Regions from separate parts of the Homo sapiens genome. Here regions 1 and 2 are each linked to region 3. The links are contacts of gene promoters, found by promoter capture Hi-C in blood cells and fetal thymus (Javierre and others, 2016). All regions are on one chromosome and are shown on one strand. The core of a region is centred on a gene start or on the middle of the fragment in contact, and the rest is flanking DNA. Distances in the headings are between cores, read along the strand shown. Region 1 overlaps SCFD2 (sec1 family domain containing 2). Region 2 overlaps USP46-DT (USP46 divergent transcript). Region 3 holds the start of CHIC2 (cysteine rich hydrophobic domain 2).

Region 1 (2,986 bases), core at 270-2,769, 1.1 Mb before region 3:
ATAAACAAATGGGTCTCTACTACATTTAAGCTCTACAAGGTCAGAGACCTGTTGTACCAGTCTGTTCTCACACTGCTATAAAGGAATATCTGAGCCTGGACAATTTATAAGGAAAAGAGGTTTAATTGGCTCATGGTTCCACAGGCTGTACAGGAAGCATGGTGGAATCTGCTTCTAGGGAGACCTCAGGGAGCTTTTACTCATGGCGGAAGGCAAAACGGGAGCAGATATCTTACATGGTGGGAGTAGGAAGAAGAGAGAGAGGTGGGAGGTGCTACACACTTTTAAATAACCAGATCTCATGACAATTCACTCGCTCACTATCAGCAGAACAGCACTGAGGGGATGGTGCTAACCCATTCACAAGAACTCTGCCCCCATGATCCAGTCCCCTCCCATTGGGCCCCACCACCAACACGGGATTACAATTCAACATGAGGTTTGGGTGGGGACACAGATCCAAACCAGATCACCCATCTCTCTCTTTTCCCTCTCTCCCTTCCTTTCGTCCTTCTTTTCTTTCTTTCATTCATGCCATATGGCAGGCACTGTTCTTGGCCCTGGGAGTAGAGTGATAAACAAAAGACACGGATCTCTGTCCTCATCAGACTTACGTTTTAGAGCTGTGCTGTTCAATACAGTAATCAGTAGCCACATGTAGCTATTTACATGTACATATGAAGTAATAAAATTACACATTTGGTTCCTCTGTTGCACTAGCCACATTTCAAGTGCTCAATAGCCATCTATGGGTAGCAGCTATCATACTGGGTAATGCAGATATAGGACATTTCCATCCTCACAGAATGTTCTACGAGATACCACTGTCTTCAAGTTTTATTTGCAGTTAGATTTTTAGAATCTACCACTGTGCCTGGCACATAGAAAGCAGTATTAAACTGTCATTAAATGTTAGAGTAGAGTGATAAGGACAACAATAAAGTTGTGTCCCTGTACAGAAATTGCACAGAGGGAGAAGAACTTAATGGGATGGGGTCAAGGAATATCTCCCAGAGGAGACAGAAACAGGTGATAGGATTTGAACTATGATAAGTTATGATGTACATTTGGTCAATGAAGGCAGCTTGCTACAACTCTAAGGAGGACAGTAGAAAAGGATTCCTTTCAAAGTTAAATCACAACCTTCATGATAGCACTGGTCAGATGCTTCTTGGATGGGTAGGCTGAAATGTAGGGGAAGACGAAAAGGGCACAATAACAGTTTTCAAACCCCTGAGGAATTCTCATTAGGAGGATGTAAACAAAAAGCATGCCCTCCTTATTTTAGGAAATAAACAGTTTGCAATAAATGTCTGAAATAGTCCTGGTTCTTAAGTATTACTATGCTCTTCAAAATGAATGCTCTGTGAGGCCTTCCTTTTAATCAGCAAATATGCTAGTCAGAGCCTTCTATAAAAAGAAGCAGTACTTAGGTGTCCATTCCTTAGCCACAAAAGGAAACTGAATAAGAACATGCACACGATATGTGGTCAGTGATGGAGACCTCTGAGGCCTGATTCAGAATAGCTGTAGTCTAGAGCTGCCCAATCCAGTGGGTATCTCAGCTACAGGAAAACCAGAAGATTGGAGAGCATGGAAAGGAACGTAAATGTGGGCCACACGGAGGACATGGTAGGTCAACTTCAATTACCCATGTCTGCTTACCAGAGAAATAGAAAGGTAATTATCTTGCATAAAGGTGATCTGGTGGCTGGCCAGACACCCACTGCCATTGTAATCAGAATAAGTCCCATAGCTAACATTCAGATAGCCCTTACACATGCCCGGCATTTACTACATTTAATTCCTACAATGACCCTACAAGATAGGTACTATTATGATTCCTTTTGACAGAGGAAGGAACTAAGGCACGTAGATGTTAAGTAGCTTGCCCAAGGTCACACAGCTAAGTAGTAAGTGGTAGAGTTAGAATTTGAAAGCATTGATTATGTGCCAAGTGTGGCTGGGGACAGATGGGCCAATGGAGGTTAGGTGGTGAGAGGGTTCAACACTTGCAAATACGGTCGGAGGCATTCTAGAAACTTCCTGTGGTGAATCCCCACCCTGACACCCTGAAGACAGATGGTGCACCACTGGAAGTAAGGAAGACAGTCAGGGAAACTGCTTATGGTTGGGGGTATTTTTAGGGGTAAAGTATCCATTCCCCCAGCACCCATGAAACCTCACTGCTCTCAGGACAGACAGAAATTTCTATTCTTTATTTTAAGACAGAGTCTCGCTCTGTCGCTCAGGCTGAAGTGACACCAGTGGCGTGATCTTGGCTCACTTCCACCTCTGCCTCCTGGGTTTAGTAATTCTCCTGCCTCAGCCTCCCCAGTAGCTGGGACTACAGGCATGTGCCACCACATCCGGATAATTTTTGTATTTTTAGTAGAGACGGGGTTTCACTATGTTAGCCAGGCTGGTCTCGAACTCCTGACCTCAAGTGATCCACTCGTCTTTGGCCCCCTCAAAGTGTTGGGATTACAGGTGTGAGCCACTGTGCCCGGCCAGGATTTCTACTCTTAACTTTGGTCATGACTCCACTCCCCAAGTCCATGAGACCAAGGTAATAGATGTTGGAGAGAGCTGCTAATTCTGTACTTTTCCATAAAGTTGCAAGGAGAGTAAACAGCAGTAACCCACCACTGCTGATCTCTGCTGATAGGAAAGCCCCTGGCTTGCCTCCCGGAGGTCAGGCATTTGACCCTGCTCAGCAAAGAACAAGAGCCCCAAGTTCTGGCCAATTCTGCACCCTCAACCACTTCCACTTTTTCATAAGGAGAAGTTTGTGAGGTTTCCCTCTCCTCATACATTAAATTAAAGAGACAGCTGTAAGCACTATAAGATCTTCATGTTCCTTCATCGATAAGTAAGGCTGATTATTCCATTAAAACAGACTCCTGTTTTGGGAAAGATGATTCATTTTCTTAAATTTGCATCTATTTCCTGAAGTCCTTTGGCCCCTTAAAGAAGGGTCAAGCTA
Region 2 (3,084 bases), core at 388-2,887, 1.4 Mb before region 3:
GAGAAAGGGCGCCGGGAAGGGGGAGGAATCCGGGTCTGGGCGGAGGCCAGCAGCGGCGCGCTCGGGCGGCTTGTGACATTAGCGGGTCCAAAGGAGACGTCCCGGTTCCGCGCAAGCACTAGGGACTGTCCAAGGAGTGGAAAGAACGAAAACAAAACTTTTCCATATCTTCAAGGCAGGCATACCCCTCTCGGGTGCACCCAGCCTCTAGTTGTTGAGATGGGCGCTGTATGGGATCATGCACATTTCCCGCATTAAAGGTCGTGGCTGCGGGCTCAGAGCGCGAGTCTGTGCACCACTTAGCAGATAGGTCCACGCGAATTGAAGGGGCCCGTTTCTGAATGTGTGGAACAGTTACACATACAAGGTTGCAATTCGATGCTTTCAAAGGAGAAATTGTACAAGTGAGATGCGTGATAAATTCTTAGATCAGTGTATTTAATGACAAATTGAATCAGAAGAAAAATTAGTTGAAGATAGCTTTTATCTAACCAAGAGTAAAGATTTGAGAGCCGTTGATTGCTAATATCCCTAGAATCTGGGGAGGAAACAGTAAGACAGACTTGTTGACTGAAGGTTTTGGGAGTCATGTCACTGTGTTTTCCAGTGGACATGAGAAATAATATTCCTGCTTAAGTCTTTCAACCTAAATATTATTTCCAAATACATCCTGATGATAATTTCTTCCATTGTAAGTCATGACTGATTTTCTTCTCTCTCTCTCTGTTTTTTAAGAGACAGGTTCTCGCTATGTTGCCCAGCCTGAGGCTGGGCAGCCCCGAGTCATCCCAAACTCCTGGGCTCCAGCAATCATCCCACCTTGGCCTCCCAAAGCGCTGGGACAACAGGCGTGAACCACTGCACCCAATGTTTACATTCCTGATCTCCTTTAATCGCCACCATAACTATCAGCTGGTACATGCTATTATCTCCTTTTTTGCAGATCAGTCACATAAGGCTTAGAGGATCAAGGATCCTGCCCAGATGACTTACCGAAATGTTACAGATTAAGTTGGTGTGGTAACCTGGGCTGAGCACTCTGGGAGAGGAAGAGAAGAGAGAAGACAGGAAACAACTGAACTATGACCAATCCCAGCACGGAGGCCCAGAAAACTTTAAGATTTGAGTATTAATGTCTCAAGGTCAGGAGCAACCTCAAGGCTAAAACTCAGATCTCAGGACTCAATTTCACAGAAGTTCCACTATAAAGGCAATAATCTAAAGCTTTAAATGATATGAAAATTTTGTAATAAGAGTTCAGTATTTCTGCCAACATTGGCGCATGGATTGCAAAGTTCACAGGATTGAAAACACCATCGACATAATGGAAATTGAACAGCATCTGATTACTGAGTGCTATATCAGCAAGTTAAAAGGATCTTTTGCATACCTTTTAATGGTATATATCCTAAAACTGAAGTGTTCAATATAGACATCCAGATTGAAACTCAGGCAGTGAATTACATACACAACAAATCAGTTGAACATGGCAGAGCTTGTCAGACTTATGAAAGATTAAATACATTTTACATTTCCACAAGTGTGGTATTCACAGGTCTAAATTGGAAAATTCTTGGGTTGAAGAAGAATAATCATAATCTTAGCTTCACTCATTGAGGAAACATTATTCAGGGATGATAAGAGGTAAAATCTTAAAAATATTGACAAGCTAATGAGAGAACTTTGAGGTAAGCTGATATGCAGGTATAGTTAGGACTGGGAAAAGCAAGAAAATGGAAGGATGGGTTAGAGGGTGGCACTACACGGCTGATATAGTTTGGATATCTGTCCCCATCCAAATCTCATGTTAAATTGGAATCCCCAATTCTGGAGGCAGAGCTAGAAGGCAGAGCCTGGTGGAAGGTGTTTGCAACATGAGGAAGGATCCCTCATGGCTTGGTGCTGTCTTAACAATAATGAGTGAGTTCTCCCGAGATCTAGTCATTTAAAAGGGTGTGGCACCTCCCCCCCCCCCCGCCCCCGCCAACTCTCTCTTGCTCCTACTCTGCCATATGAATGTTTGTTCCCCCTTTGCCTTCAGCCATGATTAGAAGCTTCATTAGGACTCCTCAGAAGTAGATGTTGGTGCCATACTTCCTGTATAGCCTGTAGTACCATGAACCTCTTCGCTTTATAAATTACCTGGTCTTGGGGATTTCTTTATAGCAATGCAAGAATGACCTAATACAGAAAACTGGTACTGAGAAGTGAGTCATTGCTGTAGAGATACCTGAAAATGTGGAAGCAGCTTTGGAACTTGGTGACAGGCAGAAGTTGGAAGAGTTTGTAGGGCTCAGAAGAAGACAGAAAGATGAGGGAAAGTTTGGAATTTCTTAGGGACTGGTTAAATGGTTGTGACCAAAATGCTGATAGCTAGGACATGAACAGAATGCACCCAAGCACTTTGCTAAGGCAAAACATGCGTGACCTTTGCTCTAGTTCCCAATAATTTCCTTATTTCCATTCGAGACCTCAGAAGCCTGGACTTCAAACCAAAATGCTGATAGTGATGTGAACAGTGAAGTCCAGGCTGCTGAGGCCTCAGATGGAAATTAGGAACTTACTGGGAACTAGAGCAAAGGTCACACAATGTTAACGCCTTAGCAAAGAGCTTAGCTGCCTTCTGTTCATGCCCTAGGAATCTGTGGAAGTTTGAACTTGAGAGTGATGATTTAGGGTATCTGGCAGAAGAAATGTCTAAGCAGCAAAGTGATCAAGAAGTGGTGTGGCTGCTTCTAGCCACTTATATTCAGATGTGGGAGCAAAGACAAAAGGTAGAACTTATATTTAAAAGGGAAGCAGAGCAAAAAAAGTTTGGAAAATTTGCAGCCTGGCCATGTGGCAGAGAAAGAAAAAAGCTTTTTCAGTAGAGGAATTCAAGCAGACTGTGGAACAATTACTTGCTAGAGATGTTTGCAGGATTAAAGGGGAGCCAAGTGCTACTATCCAAGACAATAGGGAAAAAGCCTTGAAAGCATTTCAAAGAACTTCAGAGTGGCTTCTCCCATCACAGGCCCAGAAGCTTAGGAGGAGAGAATAGATTCATGGACTGGGCCCAGGGCCATGGTACCTTGCACAGCCTTG
Region 3 (3,056 bases), core at 314-2,813:
TACTCAAACAACAATATGGCTGGTCATACGAGAAATGCAATTATTTTGCTGACAAACTTATATGAGAAGTCTTACTGTTTCCCTAAGTTATTCACAGCACATCCCACTCACTCTTCACCAAAATATAATGAAGACTATTCCAGACATTCTCAGACTTGCTGGCTCTTTTGTTTCACTGAAAAGGTGAAGAAGTACAGAGATACCTGACAAGTATGGAAGTCTGATCTATTATTTGAACAAGAGATCTAAAATGAGAGAGTATCAATGTAATACATCAAGTGGTACAAAACTGTGGACTTCATAGTGAAACATTACAAAACTTCCTGCTTCCGGACAGCTCATTATTTGGTTCAAGGCTTCACATTCCTTTGTCATGGTCTTTCCGAAAGCTTTCATTCCTTATTAATATCAGACTTTTAATGTTACTAGTGGGACTTTCCAAATTAACAAGCCCCAAGTTCGTGCCCCAAGGAGGAGCTTCAGGACTACAATTTTCCCTCAGTAACCTGAGCAGAGTGTATGTCCCTCACGTAGTTGTTGTTGTTGTTGTTGTAAACATATTTCTTTCTGTATATCTTAAATTTGTGTTCAACTATATATTTTTATCACGTACAATTACAAGAACTTGCATTAGTTCTGCGGAAATTAGTGGAAAAACTGGGAGACCTGTGGGTATGTGTGAAATAGACACGAAACGGAGCTTCGCTGCCAATTGTCACTGGGGTCTCACACGGCCCAGATCTGGCCTCTGAGCCATGTCACTGGGTGCAAAGGCACAGACAACCACAGGGTAACTGGGCGAGAAAACAAGGAGGCTCCCTGTCAATACACGTACTTCCACCCTGAAGAGGAAGGGTGGCCCGCAGGGCAGACCCTAATGAAAACCCGTGCCTACTGGGATCGTCACATCGCCCGGGCCTGTAGGGCCTGCTAAAGGGGTGTGTGGAGGAGGAAGGACAGCGTCCGTCCCCACTTCGGAGACCCAAACAAATGAAAATAAGCCAAGTTCTCACTTCCTGGTTGCCTACTCTTTCGGAAGGCCCCCGACACCAGACGGACACAGGGGAAACGGGGCTCCCGTGGAGTAACGGGGCCCACCCCAGCCCGCACCTCCCGCCCTCGCCCTCCTCCGGGCCTTACACGGTGACGTGACCGGAGCCGCGGACGACCACCGGGTCCGGCGAGTACTTGAGCAGCTGCTCCTCCAGGGCCCGCTCCTCGTCCTCCTCTTCCTCATAGATTTCGTCGAAATCCGCCATCCTGAGCCTCCGAGCTCCCCTGCCCAAAGGGCCTGACTCCCGGGGTTGGCGCCGGGGTACCGGCGGGCGAGGCGGCGGAGGCTGAGGGGAGTCGCCGCTGCCGCCGGCTCCGAGGCCGCGGAGTTCGCTGTCGGCTGTCTCGGCTCCGGCTACAGAGGGGATGGGGTCTGGACCGTCGCCGCCACCGCCGCCGCCATTACCATCAGCAATAACAACAACACAATGTCAACATCCGCCCAGAGGCCGACACCTCCACAAGCACAGACGCCGCTGCCGCCGCCGCAGCAGCAGCAACTCAGGAAACCACAGCAACAGCCCGAGCCACCCGCAGCGGGAGCAGCCGGCTACGGCATCGCGAGACTTCCCGGGCCAACGGGCGGGCGGGCGCGTGCGTGGGCGCGTGGGCGAGCGGACTGGCTGGCGGGCGGGCGGGCGCGCGCACGTGCGGCCTCGCGCGCTCCCAGGCCACCGTCTTTCCTCTGCTTCTACCCGCAGACGGCGACCGGGGCGCGCGCTCCCGCCGGCGGGCCCCCCTCCGCCGACTTCTGGGTGGCGGACCCTGGGGGCGGCGGCTCCGCTGACTGGAGGCCGCGACCCGCGACTCCGACAACGCAGCTTGGAATGTCCAGTGGGACATGCAGTTCCCCAAAGTCATCTCTAACCAAAACAAACAACTGAAAAGAAAAGCCCTGGCTGGAATAGACACATTTTTGTGCGTGTCATTGCCAGTTTATCTAATAATCGCATCTCGCTTTTCCTCAGGTTTTGAGTCTATGATGAGAACCAGAGTCTCTTTTTTCCCAATTTGAGGAGTCCAGCAGAGACACTGCAAACATTTGTGCTCACCACAGGATTTTTCAAGACATCTCCAAATTCAAACATCTTATCCCTTGATCCCCTTAAGTATAATCCAATATATGAGGCCAGCGATGCTGGTATTTTTTTTTTTTTCTTACAAGAAATCTCACCGTAGTCATGCTATGAAAAAAAACTGATAAATTACCTGGATTCCATATTAGAAGATGCAGTTTCTTGCCCCAACTCTCTCACCAAACATAACCTGGTTTTTGTTGTTGTTTCCTTAAAATCTTAGGGAATTCCTTTCCTTTTCTTACCAGTTCCTACCACAAAAAAGACCTGAAAGAAAGGGCAGAGGAGAGGAAGAAAAGGAGGCAGGAAGGAAGAAAGGATAGAAGGAAGGACGAGAAGAATGAAAGAAGAATGGGAGAGAAAGAAAGAAGGGGAGGAAGGAAGGAAAAGGTTTAATGGAGTCTACTTAGCTGCCTAGTAACAGTTGAACGGTCACTTTGGGTACTTGGTTTCATTAAGCATATAAACAGCACAGGGGAAGGAGTGGGCTTCTGAGAAGAGAGTCCTGGACAGTGAGGATACACCATGGGAGAAGAAAGGATAGTTCTACTGAGCCCAGCGCTGGTCAGGCTCTTCAAGTGCAGTGTTCATGTCACAGTAGTCGGCTTTAGATGGGTCACTGTTGACGTGGAGAAAGTGCAAAGGAGGTCAATGAGGACAGTGAGAGATGCCAACCTCCTTTTGGAAACAACTGAAGGAAATGAGTGTGGTTAGCCAAGAAAAAATGAAGGAAAAATACAGTAGTTGTATCAGACTTATTGTATCCCTCCCTGGAGGGTATTTGTTCATTCAACAAATATCTACTGAACTCTAGCTATGTGGCAGGCACTGTGGACGTGTGTGAATGAGGCACAGGCCCTGACTTCTGGTAGCTTATCTATTGTTAAGGCAAGCAATTGTCATCTCTGCCAGGGGCTCATGGAGGAG

What was found. Contacts are between HindIII fragments. The CHiCAGO score rates a contact against its expected background, and 5 or more counts as called.
Region 1: a contact is called between a fragment that was not itself captured here and the fragment with the promoter of CHIC2 in region 3, in 1 of 17 cell types (fetal thymus). The highest score is 5.0, in fetal thymus.
Region 2: a contact is called between a fragment that was not itself captured here and the fragment with the promoter of CHIC2 in region 3, in 1 of 17 cell types (naive CD8 T cells). The highest score is 5.3, in naive CD8 T cells.

The regions. Positions count from the first base shown.
Region 1 is chr4:53,002,688-53,005,673 of GRCh38, forward strand. All of the region lies in intron 5 of SCFD2 (sec1 family domain containing 2), which reads right to left. Among named protein-coding and RNA genes, the nearest start is that of SCFD2-AS1, 77 kb to the left of the region's middle. RefSeq lists a silencer at 1,416-1,505. The HindIII fragment of the contact is 4,903 bases long and covers 1-2,986 here.
Region 2 is chr4:52,659,949-52,663,032 of GRCh38, forward strand. USP46-DT (USP46 divergent transcript) reads left to right here. Exons shown (of 2, transcript NR_125363.1): 2 at 944-1,550. Among named protein-coding and RNA genes, the nearest start is that of USP46-DT, 2.1 kb to the left of the region's middle. The HindIII fragment of the contact is 830 bases long and covers 1,223-2,052 here.
Region 3 is chr4:54,063,042-54,066,097 of GRCh38, forward strand. CHIC2 (cysteine rich hydrophobic domain 2) reads right to left here and starts at 1,564. Exons shown (of 6, transcript NM_012110.4): 1 at 1,141-1,564. The coding sequence starts at 1,259. RefSeq lists an enhancer at 972-1,472 and silencers at 1,272-1,401, 1,632-1,871. The HindIII fragment of the contact is 3,181 bases long and covers 388-3,056 here.